2 separate regions of the Homo sapiens genome follow, and region 2 is linked to region 1. The links are contacts of gene promoters, found by promoter capture Hi-C in human tissues and cell types (Jung and others, 2019). All regions are on one chromosome and are shown on one strand. The core of a region is centred on a gene start or on the middle of the fragment in contact, and the rest is flanking DNA. Distances in the headings are between cores, read along the strand shown.

Evidence for each region. Contacts are between HindIII fragments. The study calls those that stand out against the background at their distance.
Region 2: a contact is called between a fragment that was not itself captured here and the fragment with the promoter of ODF1 in region 1, in 1 of the 25 tissues and cell types used here (lymphoblastoid cells).

What each region holds. Positions count from the first base shown.
Region 1 is chr8:102,547,755-102,554,349 of GRCh38, reverse strand. ODF1 (outer dense fiber of sperm tails 1) reads right to left here and starts at 2,761. Exons shown (of 2, transcript NM_024410.4): 1 at 2,303-2,761. The coding sequence starts at 2,622. It overlaps LOC124901998 (a long non-coding RNA gene), which reads right to left. Exons shown (of 3, transcript XR_007061039.1): 2 at 4,541-4,652; 3 at 3,754-3,843. LOC105375684 (a long non-coding RNA gene) reads left to right here and starts at 3,722. Exons shown (of 2, transcript XR_928478.3): 1 at 3,722-3,807. The HindIII fragment of the contact is 1,295 bases long and covers 2,569-3,863 here.
Region 2 is chr8:102,332,517-102,339,112 of GRCh38, reverse strand. The region is part of intron 9 of UBR5 (ubiquitin protein ligase E3 component n-recognin 5); the gene reads left to right. Among named protein-coding and RNA genes, the nearest start is that of UBR5, 77 kb to the left of the region's middle. The HindIII fragment of the contact is 3,034 bases long and covers 1,799-4,832 here.

The DNA of each region.
Region 1 (6,595 bases), core at 1,512-4,011:
GAAGGTCATGTGAATATGAATTCTAAACTCAAAAAGCCTTGGGCAAGCTTTCACACCAAAGATTGTTTTAAAAAATTGAATCAACATGATATTTCTGCATCTATTTAGTTATGGATCAGGCGCTAGCTTAGAGATAAGAATAAAAGGCACTGCACTAGAAGAAAAAATACTACACTGGGGGCCTTCTGGGACTGAGGCTAGAATCAGGGTTTAACATTTTCACCCATATTCAGGAAAATTGAATATTTAGGTTTGCAAGTGACACTAAGCCCTTCTGGAGAGTGAAATGTCAAGTTGTCAGAAATAGAGCATAGAAATTTCACAAGGTGGTGTGAATTGGAAGAGATAAAGCGGACAAGCCTGAGGTCATTTCTACAATGGACTTGGAGTTATCATTTCCGAGATCCAGAAATTAATGTAAAGACATCACCAGCTTCACATATTGCCTGCAGGCAGAGAAAAAATAGGCAAAGACCCAGACGCTGTCAGGAAGAGCATCACAAACCAGAGAAAACATTACCTCTTGCCTAAACTACACTGCCGAGAATTAAGCTTGAAGCTGTTTCTACTGCATGCCAAGAAACAAGGCTTCTGAAAGAGGCATCAAGAGAGTAGACAGCACAGGACAGAGAGGGATTTTAATTGGTAGAGTCTGGGGATAGGAGAGAAGCCAGGAAGACAGAGGCTGGAAAGACCTGGACAAGGGTATTCAAGTATCCAAAAGTAGGAGGAGAGTGGATACTGATCTGCTCACAAGGAAACCTTAACTTGGACCAAATATTTTAAAAAGAGTCCCTGCCTCACAGTGTGAGCAATTTATGTGACTTGATGCCCTAAGAAATAAAAACAAACATTGGTTCAAAGAGTATAGATGAATTTACAGGTGAAAGCTCCCAGGCTATGAGGGAGGTTCATTCCTGACCATTGGTGGCTGGTGACCTAGACAATAATTATCCTTTTTTTTTTTTTTTTTTTGAGACAGTCTCACTTTGTCACCCGGTCTGGAGTGTAGTGGTGCAATCTTGGCTCACTGCAACCTCTGCCTCCTGGGTTCAAGTGATTCTCCTGCCTCAGTCTCACGAGTAGCTGGGATTACAGGCACGTGCCACTACGCTTGGCTAATTTTTTTTTTTTTTTTTTTTTGTATTTAGTAGAGATGGGGTTTCACCATGTTAGCCAGGCTGGTCTCGAACTCTTGAGCTCAGGTGATCTGCCCGCCTCCGCCTCCCAAAGTGCTGGGATTACTGGCATGAGCCAATGCACCCGGCCTCCTATTGCTTTTTCCAAAGAAACATCACTGTCACTGTTGTCAAGAGACTCTATCTATCTATCATCTATCTATCTATCTATCTATCTATCTATCTATCTATCTGTCATCTGTCTATCAGTTTTTCTGCACTTTGCTTGTTTGACTTAATACATCAATATGTAAGATGCTTCATCAATCCTTTCTATATTTACTTATTATTCCAGTGCATGAATGTATTATTTATTTAACCAGGGACAGCACTTTCAACCATCTTTTTCATCAACAGTAACAGACTAAATGGCATATGTAAAAAGTTAGAAAAGGAAAGTTTTCTCCAGGCAAAAAGAAAATATAATCTAAAACAAAAATTTTTTTAAAAAACTGACTCTTTTTAATTACCCAATTCAATTAAAAAGCCTTTCAAGTCTATCCTGAAAGCTACAACTCAGTGCCATAGTTTATTTGCAAGACCTTTGCTAGAGTTAGAGGGGAGGCCAACATGATAGACCTAATTCCAGATACAAGGTAAGTCTTTGCCTGGAGTGGGGGGATAGGAGAATGATATTCCCACAAAACCAAGGCAATGCCTCTACTGTTCAATTTGCTCTCCTGCTTGTAAAGCCTCTGGCACACATTAAGGATTTGATCTATTATTATTACTTCTCCTGTAGTCATTTCTGTAAGTCCAAATATACTCAAATCACTTTACTCATAACCAGGAAAAATGTTTAGTTTGCTGCTTCCAATGGCTTTTTAATGACACCCCCTGTTTCTTCCCTTCATTAAAGCCGCATTATTTATCATACTGGCATTCTTGCTATAAACCACCGACGACCTTGCCAATCGACATCATTACATTGTCTTTTGAGAACCCTACAATTCCCATCATGGACTCATTTACTCTTCTTTCCTTAAATCTTTCCTAAGTCACCAGGGTCATTATCCTGAACCCTTTTAATCTTTGTTCAACTATTGATTGTCACATATTTTTCCTTATTCCAACTTATAAGGCTAATATACCGACTATAAAAATTTAAAAATAAGTTATTTTACTTGGCAAGCTCTCGCTTCTCATCTTCTATGGCTCTGATGGCTTTCCTCTCCAAACTTCTGAGAGATGGTCGCAGACAGTAAAGCTTATAATCACACAGGCAACATGGGTAGAGATCACACAGGCCGCAAGAGCGTGATCGCTTGGAATAGCACAAGCAGTACGGATATGGGTGCAAGTCACAGCAGCAATAGGGGTGCATATACAAGTCGCACAGGCACCGTGTGCTAAATTCGTCGATGCATCTCAGTTGCCTTAGTTCTCTGTCCACCTTCTTTATGTCCCTTCTGACACTGTCCAAGAGACAACTCAGTGCAGCCATTATGGTCACACCTGATTGTTCTGTGAGTACCTTTGGGAAATGGCACTCCGGGAAAAAATTTGTTCTAAGCCCTTCTCAGAAGTTGCTTTTAAAAATAAATGAGGCACACATGATTCACTTACTTTAAAGCTTGTGTTCTATGACCTCACCACCTTCTGAAGTATGTCATAGTCTTCTGGTTACCATGTGAACTGTACACAGTCATGGTCTCCAGAGACCATCCTCAGAGTTACAGAGCTACTCTCAGAACCATACTCGTGTTGAGATTTCACTCACCTTCAAGGAGGATGGGTCTCCCAAGCGAGCATAGCTCATCGGGGTGCATGGGGCTGGCCACTAACATCCTTGCCTTGTGTGTGCTCTGGGGACCAGCCATGGCTATGACTGTGTGTTTGTTGAACTTGGTGCAGGCGAAGGCAGGAGCTGCCCACGCCTTTCTCCATGACCTTCTAGCTCTAGCCTTGATTGGAAGCTTGGCCTTGCTCCTTTTGTTCTAGAATTCATTCTGTCTCCAGACAGGTAGAATATAAAGAATGTTCTCATCATTCTCCTCCTACCAAGTCATCCTCAAGTCAGCCATTGTCCTTGACCTTCTGAGTTACAAGTCTCTGAGTCCTGCCCATTCTGCGCCAGCTGTGGTCATGGCTGTTCGGGAACCTCATTTCTCTACTGGTTGGGGGTCCTGTCCTTAAGCTCCCATCTGTCAGTCCTCGGGGGCCTGTCCTGGGGAACTACCTCCCATCAACTACACCTTTGGTCTTGCATCCAAGCCTCCGGATGTCTTGTCCCTGAGTGCTTCCCAAATGTTGGTCTTTGATGTTCTTGTAGCCAACCGCCTGAAGATGCTGGAAGCCAACTGCCTGAAACCCCCGCTTCGGCCAGTTTCCTTTACTTTCTGTTCAGTTAACATCCTAGACCTCTGATTCGGCCTCAGATTTGGCTCTCGGTGCCTCTACTCCTCTGGTCCTTTCACCTCAAACTGCGGTCCAGCTCTCGAGTCTCCCTTGTATGAACTAGAGCTCAGGTATTGATGACAAGTGGTTGGATGTGACACTGGTGAGGGAGACAAGGGCCAGGTTTGAAGGGACCTGTAGCCAGACTAAGGACTCTGAACTTTATTTTGAGCCCAACGAAGGATTGTTGATTTTCTTTTCTTTTGTCAGAAGTGAGACAGCCACACTGAAGGTAAGTTGCTAGGGACAATAGTAGTGGGGTTTTCTGCTGCAAGACAAGAAGAGACAACAAAAATCTGGACTGGGGATCATGGCTATGGGGATGGCAAGGAGGAAGCCAATGGGAAAGCCTTCCCCCACCTCTGCCCAGGCCCCATCTAATCCATTTTCCACATTGTAGCCACAGCGACTTTCATATAGAAATCTGTCATTCCTCAACCTTCCCCACCCATCATCCCACTCACCTTAAAAGTCTTCTCTGTCCTCTCAAAAAAAGGACCAAAATCTTTACCAGGTGCTGAGCAATGGGGCCTCTCCCACTTCCCCACTCTCCTCTCCCATCCTAGTATTATTGCAATTCATTACCCCTCAGCCACGATGGCCTTCCTGGAAGACCACTCACTTTCCAGAGGCCGTTCCTTAGTCCCTTGAAGGACATTCCTCATTCCTTCCACCTCATTCAGAGCTCATACACAGGACGTTCTGCCTGCTTAGAAATTGAACTCCCCACCTATGACTTTCATCCATTTAATTCTTAAGGCACCCTTTAGATCTCCCCCTTTCTTGGGGAAGCCTTCTCTGTCTCCCAGACTAAACACTCTCTTAACTTAGGATACATTTCCTTCATGATATTGTTTCCCCAGCTGGACTGTAAGCCACGAGGGCAAGGACCTTGTCTATTTTTGCTTCGCAGTAGATACCTAACACAATGCCTGGCACATAGCAGGTGCTTGAAATGTACTCACTGAATGACCATCTGGGTGAATTCAACAGGATTTAGTGAACAGAGTGAGGATGGAGTGAGGGAGGAATCAGTGGTGACTTCCAGCTTTCAAGCTTGGCAGACTCTTGGTGCCACTGAGATAAAAATAACACAGGGAGAAGAGTAAGTTTGGGGATTTGGTGAACAGGTGGTGCTGGTGACAACTTTAAGGTAGAAATCTGGAGTATTCTGTGGATAAGAGGGTCTGGAATTTGAGGAAAGCCTGGGCTAGAGATATAAATTAGGAAGCCACAATTCCATAGGTAGTTGGAACCCTGGAAACAGGCAAGATAATTCAGAATTTAAAAAGAGAGCTGAAGCCGACTCCCAGGGAAAAATAAGTAGAAATGAGGAGAGTGAAGGAGTCCATGAAAGGCTCATAGAAGGAGTAACAGAGGGCGACAGCCCCCTCAGCTGGAGTCCCTTGGGAGTCACTAGACCAAGCATGGCATTCCCAATGGCTCGATGTTCCCCAGCCTTGACTTAGGAGGCCCTTTTCTGTGCAGATAATGTGTCTTAGCAAACAAGTGTCCCTAGAGGCATTAGAATGAGAGGCTGGCCCCTTGAGTCACGTGGAATGAGTCAAAAAGCAAAGCTGAATGATTCTCCTCTATGGACAAATTCTGACCTCTTTAAAAGTGATTCCACTGTGATTTGATTCTGAGGGGTGGACCCTATTAATAGAAATATGGCCTACTCTTTCCTGAGAGTTAATTGCAGGAGTTGTACAGATTTCTCTAGCTCCAGGTGACAGAGAATTCTTATATCACCTTGAATTCTATCCCTTAGCAAATGTCAGCAAAGATTGAAGCAGGCAAGCTCTCAGTTTAATATTATTATATACACAAGTTCAGGTGCCTAAATACACACATCTGTGTATACATGGTACATTATTAAGATGGGTATAGCTATATTTCAACTAGGATTCTCCCATTATCCCACCTTCCTAGTGATTTTTCTTTTTTTATTTTGAGACAGGGTCTTACTCTGTCACCCAGGCTGGAGCACAGTGGCATGTGCTCTCTGCAGCCTTGACCTCCTGAGCTCAGGTGAGCCTCCCACCTCAGCCTCCCCAGTAGCTGGGGCTATAGCCATGCACTACCATGCCTGCCTAACTTTTGTATTTTTTGTAGAAATGGGGTCTCACCATGTTGCCCAGCCTGGTCTCAAACTCCTGGGCTCAAGCCATCTGCTCACCTTGGCCTCCCAAAGTGCTGGGATTACAGGCATGAGTCACCACTCCTGTCCCTTCCTAGTGATTTTACTCTTCATCATGAAGTATATTCTTATCATTTTAAGTGACTAAATAAAGGTAGTGTCTTCTTTAATGATGAGATGGAAATGTGATCTATTCATATCAGAAGGATTTTAATATGGATTCTAATATGGAACTAGGACCTTCCGTATGCAGGACTATGTCCATGGAATCTCTCATTCACCTTGGCTGGTGTCCGGATAGAACCTCCTCTGGATGGAAGGCAGGTCTTGACACTTTCCCAAGTTGGGCAACACTTGCTTGGTCCCCAATGTTGGTGAAATCATGAGCCAAAGAAGGTCCCCTCTGCCTCTTCCAGCAGGTAGCACAGCTACAGCTCAAGTCTCGTCACCAGACCAATGTTACAAAGACACTTTTCTAACAGTTGTTAGGTCAGTACACAGTGCTTAAACATCAAATATGAAAGTATACACACAGTGTGACCTGAACTCTGTAAAAAAGAATCCATAGGCTAGGTGTGGTGGCTCACACCTGTAATTCCAGCACTTTGGGAGACCGAGGTGGGGAGAATCACTTGAGGCCAGGAGTTTGGGACCAGCTTGGGCAACATAGTGAGACCCCATCTTCTACAAAAATATTTAAAAATTAGCCAGGTATGGTGGCACATGCCTATGGTCCCAGCTACTCAGGAAAATGAGGAGGGAGGATCATTTGAGCCCAGAGGCTCTAGGCTACATTGAGTTATGATTGCACCTCTGCACTCCAGCCTGGGCAATAGGGTGAGACCCTGTCACAAAAAAAAAAAAAAAAAAAAGGAGAGAA
Region 2 (6,596 bases), core at 2,066-4,565, 220 kb after region 1:
TGAATTAAATGTCAAAACTAATATAAAAGCATAATTGAAAATTATAGGCATCTTGAAAGTTCCATAAAGACAGAAGTAAGGGTCATTCAGTCATTATTACTTTAGAAACCTTGATTAAATATGTGCCATGTGTTAGGCCTTTTGTTAGATGTTAGGGTGAGAGATTTTATAGGAAGAAGAAAAATAATGTTAATTTGTTTGAATAAGTACCATAATAGGTTTCCATACATACATACGTAATAGCTACACAGTAGCACAGGAGGCATTGGGAAATCACAGGAGGCTGCACAGAATGATTACAAAGAGTGTGGACTCTGAAGTCAAACTGCTGGATTTCCTATCCTAATCCTACCACTGTCTAGTTGTGTGATCTTGATCAAGTTCTTTAACTTCTCTCTGCCTTGGTTTTCTCATATAGATAGATATAGTAATACTTTTTACATTATGGGTTTGTTATGAGAATTAAATAAGTTAGTTTATGTAAAGTGCAAAGAGCAAGGAGAAGCATGGTCCTGTCCCAGGAAGGGAGAACGGGCAGTTCCTGCAGGTCATGGGAGGGTGAGAGAGCCCAGTTGGGTATTTCGAAGTACGTTTATGTGGCACTTGTGTGTTATGTGCCAGGTTCTCTGTTAGTAGTGAATTGGACACAGACCAAAAAGATACAGATCATGCATGCCCCCTTTATCTGACTGGACTAGAATGAATTCAAGTTATGAAAACATTTTATTATAGTAATAATTTAGTGTAATAGGAAATTAAGGGCAGCCTATATGTACCAAAGTGAGAAGGGGAGGGAGTGCCTAAGTCTGTGCTCTAAGTTCAAGGTTATGATGTTCACAGTGAAACCAGCCAAGTTGATACTGGTTTCTGAAGGTTTTTACCCCAAAACATCAACTTTCTTATTATGCTATCCCTACTCCCTAAAATCTATCCTTTCTTGCTTCCCCTCCCTCTCTTCCCCCATACTCCCCGCCGACTCCTTTTTCCCGCTCCCTTTACTCACCCTTCTCTAGCCATTCTTTCCATCCTTCCGTCCATCCACCTTTCCATCTAACCATCTGTGCACCTACTGTTTTTTACTGTTTTTCTGGCTTGTATGACTGCTTATTACATTTTGCATTTCTGGAATAGCTTTGATAATTCATTTACTTTGGTGAGAAGAGGTAATCTTTTAATTAGGTGGTTGTATAACATGGCTCCATTTTCTCTTCTCAGTCATTTTTGCAATTTATTTTTTCTAGATTAGAAATTTCATAATATGTTGCTGAATGTCTGCATGTAAATTGTAATTATATATGTGTTTATACCAACCTACTTCCAACAAGAATCTAAACCAAACACATTTTACAAGGCCTAAGCCAGACAAAGACGCCAGAGGAAAAGAAAACCATAGGCTAATAATATCTTTGAACATTGATGCAGAAATCCTCCAAAAAAAATTCAGGAAACTGAATTCAACACATATCAAAAAGATATACATCACGACCAGGTGGAATTTATTCCTGGCATATGAGGCTGACTTTATATATACACATTAATCAATGTGATAGATCATGTTAGCAGTATGAAACCTGAAAATCACATGAACACCTTGATTGACGCAGAAAAAGCATTTGAAGAAGTTGAGCATTCTTTCTTGATAAAAACTCTTTAACAGTTTAGCTGTGGAAGGAAAGCTCCTGCATATAATAGAAGCCATATATGAAAAAACCCATAGCTAACAATCAACAGGGAGCAACTCAGAGCTTTTCCAATAATATTTAATGCAAGGCAGGGATGCCTACTCTTGCCAATTCCATTCAGCATAGTACTGGAAGCACTAATGAACATCAAACAAGAAAAAGAAATAAAAGACATCCAGATTGGAAAGGAAGAAGTACAATTATCTGTATTTGCAGATGACATGATCTTATATGTAGAACCCCCTCCAAAATTTCACAAGAAAACCTGTTAGAACTAATAAATTCATTAAAGTTGCAGGCTACGAGGTCAACATACAAAAATCAGTAGTATTCCTATACACAAATAACAGCCTAGCCGGAAAAGAAATTAAGAAAATAATCTTGGCTAGGTGCTGTGGCTCATGCTTATAATCTCAGCACTTTGGGAGGCTGAGGCGAGAGGATCTCTTGAGTCTAGGGAGCTTCATGGATGGGAAGAATTAGTATTTTTAAACTTATACTGCTCAAAGTAATGTACAGATTTATACATAATCTCTATCAGAATTCCAGTGGCATTCTTCACAGAAATAAAAAAGCAATCCTAAAATTTGTAAAGAACCATAAAATACCCCAAATAGTGAAAGCAATAATGGGAAAATTGGAAGCACCATACTTCTTGGTTTAAAATAGTATTACAAAGCTATAAGCAATCAAAACCATATGGTGCTGGCGTAAAAACAGAAACATAGACCAATGGAACAGAGTAGAGAGCCCAGAAGTAAATTCAAACATATATTATTAACTAATTTTTGACAAGGGCACCAGTGGGGAAAAGATAGTTTCTTCAATAAGTGGTACTGGGAAAACTGGATTTTCACATGTAAAATTGGATTCCTATCTTAGACAATACATAAAGATCGACTCAAAATAGACAAAAGACCTAAATGTGAAATATGAAACCTTAAAAACTATGAGAAAATATAAGGAAAGCTCCTTGACATTGCTCATGGCAGTGATTTTTTTTGGATTTCACACCAAAAACTCAAACTTCAAAAGGAAGAATAAGTAAATGGAGCTACATGAAACAAAAAACCTTTGTGTATAGTAAAGAAAACAGTCAACAAAATAAAAAGGCACTCTATAGACTGTGAAAAAATATTTGCAAACCATGCATGTCATAAGGAGTTAATATTCAAAATTTATAAAGCACACTTGAAGTCAGTAGCAGAAAAATAACCTGATTAAAAACCGGGTAAGGACCTTATAAGACGTTTCTTCAAAGAAGACATAAAAATGGCTAACAGATATTTGAAAAGGTGCTTAACATCAGTAATTGTCAGGGAAATGCAAATTAAAACCACTGTGAGATACCATCTCACACCCATTAGGATGGTTGTTATCAAAAAGACAAGAGATAGCACATGTTGACAGTGATGCAGAGAAAAGAGAACCCTTGTATGCTGTTGGGAACTAGATTGGTATAGCTATTATGGAAAGCAGTATGGAAGTTCCTAAAGAAGTTAAAAATAGAGCCACCATAGGACCCAGCAATCCCTATTATGTACGTACCCAGAGGAGATGAAATCATGCATATCTGCACTTGGGCCAGGCGCGGTGGCTCACGCCTGTAATCCTAGCACTTTGGGAGGCCAAGGCGGGTGGATCACCTGAGGTCAGGAGTTCGAGACCAATCTGGCCAAAGTGGTGAAACCCCGTCTCTACTAAAAATACAAAAACTAGCTGGGCATGGTGGCACATGCCTGTAATCCCAGCTACTTGGGAGGCTGAGGCACAAGAATCACTTGAACTTGGGGGACGGTGGTTGCAGTGTGCCAAGATCACACCACTGCACTACAGCCTGGGCGACAGAGCAAGACTCTTGTCTCAAAAAACTAACTAACTAAATAAATAAATAAATTTTATTGTGTATATTTGAAGTTTACAACAGGTTATAGGATACATGTATTTATATTGTTACTATAATAGATTAACACATCTATCATCTCACAGTTACTATTTTGTGACAAGAGCAGCTAAAATCTACTTAACAAAAATCCATAATATGATACCATTTTATTAACTGTAATCCTCATGACATAACAATTGCAGCTCTAGATTTGCATCCTACATGTCTGCTGTGTATCCTATAACCCCATTTTCCCTCCCTCACACCCCCACACTGCTTGTCAGCCCATGGTAACCACTGCTTTATTCTCTACCTTTGTATATTTGACCTTTAAAAAAAAAAAAAGACTTCACATATAAGTGAGATCACACAATATGTTTTTTCCCTGTGTCTATCTTATTTCTCTTAGCATAATGTCCTCTAGGTCTATCCATGTTGTGGCAAATGGCAAGATCTCCTTTTTTAAGCTGAATAATTATCCTTTTTTTCTGTTGTGTCTGTGTGTGTGTGTTTTCTTCATCCATTTGTCCATGAAGGACACTTAAGCTTTTTCCATATATTACCTATTATAAATACTACCACAGTGAATATGAGAGTGCAGATACTTTTTATTTTTTTATTTTATTTATTTATTTATTTATTTTTGGTGAGAGGGAGTTTTGCTCTGTTGCCCAGGCTGGAGTGCAGTGGCACGATCTCGGCTCCTTGCAAGCTCTGCCTCCTGGGTTCATGCCATTCTCCTGCTTCAGCCTCCCGAGTGGCTGGGACTGCAGGCACCTGCCACCATGCCCGGTTAAGTCTTTTGTATTTTTGGTAGAGACGGGGTTTCACCGTGTTAGCCAGGATGGTCTCGATCTCCTGACCTCATGATCTGCCTGCCTCGGCCTCCCAAAGTGCTGGAATTACAGGCGTGAGCCACGGCGCCTGACTCGGTACTGTTAATTAACATTAACTGGCAGGGCTTGGTGGCTCATGCCTGCAATCCCAGCACTTTGGGAGGCCAAGGCAGACGGATCACTTGAGGTCAGGAGTTCGAGACCAGTCTGGCCAACATGGTGAAACCTCGTCTCTACTAAAAATACAAAAATTAGCCAGGTGCGGTAGCGTGCACCTGTAGTCCCAGCTACGTGGGAGGCTGAGGTGGGAGAATCGCTGGAACGCAGGAGGCGGAGGTTGCAGTGAGCCAAGATCGTGCTGCTGCACTCCAGCCTGGCCGACAGAGTGAGGTTCTGTTTCCCCGCTAAAAAACATTAATATTCCTTACTGTTCTGGATCTATTTCTATCTAGTCTAGAGGAAACAATAAGTAGAATTATTCCCACCAGCCCTTTATATTGTAGAGTTGTATGTTACTCTGTTTCTTTGAATGGTGTTGAGAGGAAATGGATCCATTTCATTTGACCCCTTGTTTAAGCTCTTTGGAGCAACCTCCCTGTTGGAACCAGCTGATCAGACTTGTGGGTTATATTGCTTCACCTTCATTGTGCTTCCAACACTGAGGAAAATGAAGGCAGAGGATTCTAAAAGTGGAAGTTGGCTGGGGAAGGTCTTTGTTTTGTTTTTATTGACATCTGGAAACTTCCAGGATTAACTAGATGTGTCACAAATGTAATTTAATATGAAGTAAGAACAAAATGAAAAATGATCATAAAAAGGAAAAGAAACTCGGCAGAAAAAGCATATGGAAAAGCGGATAGGCAGAGAGAGATGAAGTGTGAATGGACACAGTTGGCCAAATTGCAGTGTATCTTGTAGTTGCCATCATTCCAATCATGATGTGCAGTATATTGTATTTAGTGATAGGAGTTGGAGCTGCTACCTAATGATAAAACCAGTGTTTGCTCATAGTAGAAAAAATGTGAAAACCAAGTTTTGTGGGGCAAAATTCAGGAATAGAGATGCCAACTTTTTCACAATATGAATTAGTAAACATAGGTGTGGCCAGTTAATAGAGTTGGTGTTGCTGGGCCAAGTGTTTTTTAAAGCTTTGGCCGCTATTTCATGTCTCATATTTTTAACAGTTTTCCTTCCCCCTTTGAGGAAGGATTTCTAGTTAAATTTATGACCCATTTATGTTGGACAGTTGCAGATTTACTGATTCAACTTCTTTTTGTTGAAAAATAGAGCTACAAACTACTGCTCTTTAAGGAAACATGCATAGCCACTTTCTCTAGTTGGATTGAGCAGATGTCAGCTTGCTAAGAAGCAGCAATTCGTACTTCATAAAAACAATAAAAACATTGTTTTCTATGACTTATGAAATGAATGAGCTAAAATACTGTCCTTGTGTATGTATTTGATTGTTTTGTATTTACATACAGTAAATTTCTTTAATACAGATAAATCTGAAGCAGGCAAGAAGTAGTAGGTGATTTTTTTGTCCTCTTCCTGTGGGTTCATAGTTGTGCTATTCATCTTCATTTGTCCATAGTGGGTTTTCAGGGCCTGTAGGGGTGTAATTGGCTCATCCAGGCCTTATCACCGTGGGGGACATTGCCCTATCTCTGAAAGATAAAGGCAAGTCAGTTCTGAGAGGGCCTCATGCACCATGCTCTTGCTATTGGGCTGGTTTGTTCAGGATTGTACTGCTCTAGTAAGGCATTTACCCAAAGAAGCTGGAGTTAAGATTCATTTGTTCATTCAACAGTTGGTCAGTGTGTTCCTGCTTTGTGCCATATACCAAGCTGGCATATGGTAATATAGTCATGAGTATGATATTGGCCTTTCTACAAGGAATTCAGTGGGGAACACAAACATTTACATAGAATGTAATGTGATCATAATGTGATCAGTGCTAGGCTGAAAGTATGAGTAAAGTGCTATAGGGGTTCTGAGTGGTAAATGACCAATACCACCTGAGAGATCTGGCAAAGGCATCGCAGAGGAGATAGCATTTAAGCAGCATTTTTAAGGTGAGGTGGGCATTGACCAAGGCACAAAGGTATTCCAAACGTATCTGGGCATGGGCCCAGAGTCACAAAAGGTCATGATGTGTTTGAGGAACCATGAAAAATTCAGAATTGCTGCTTT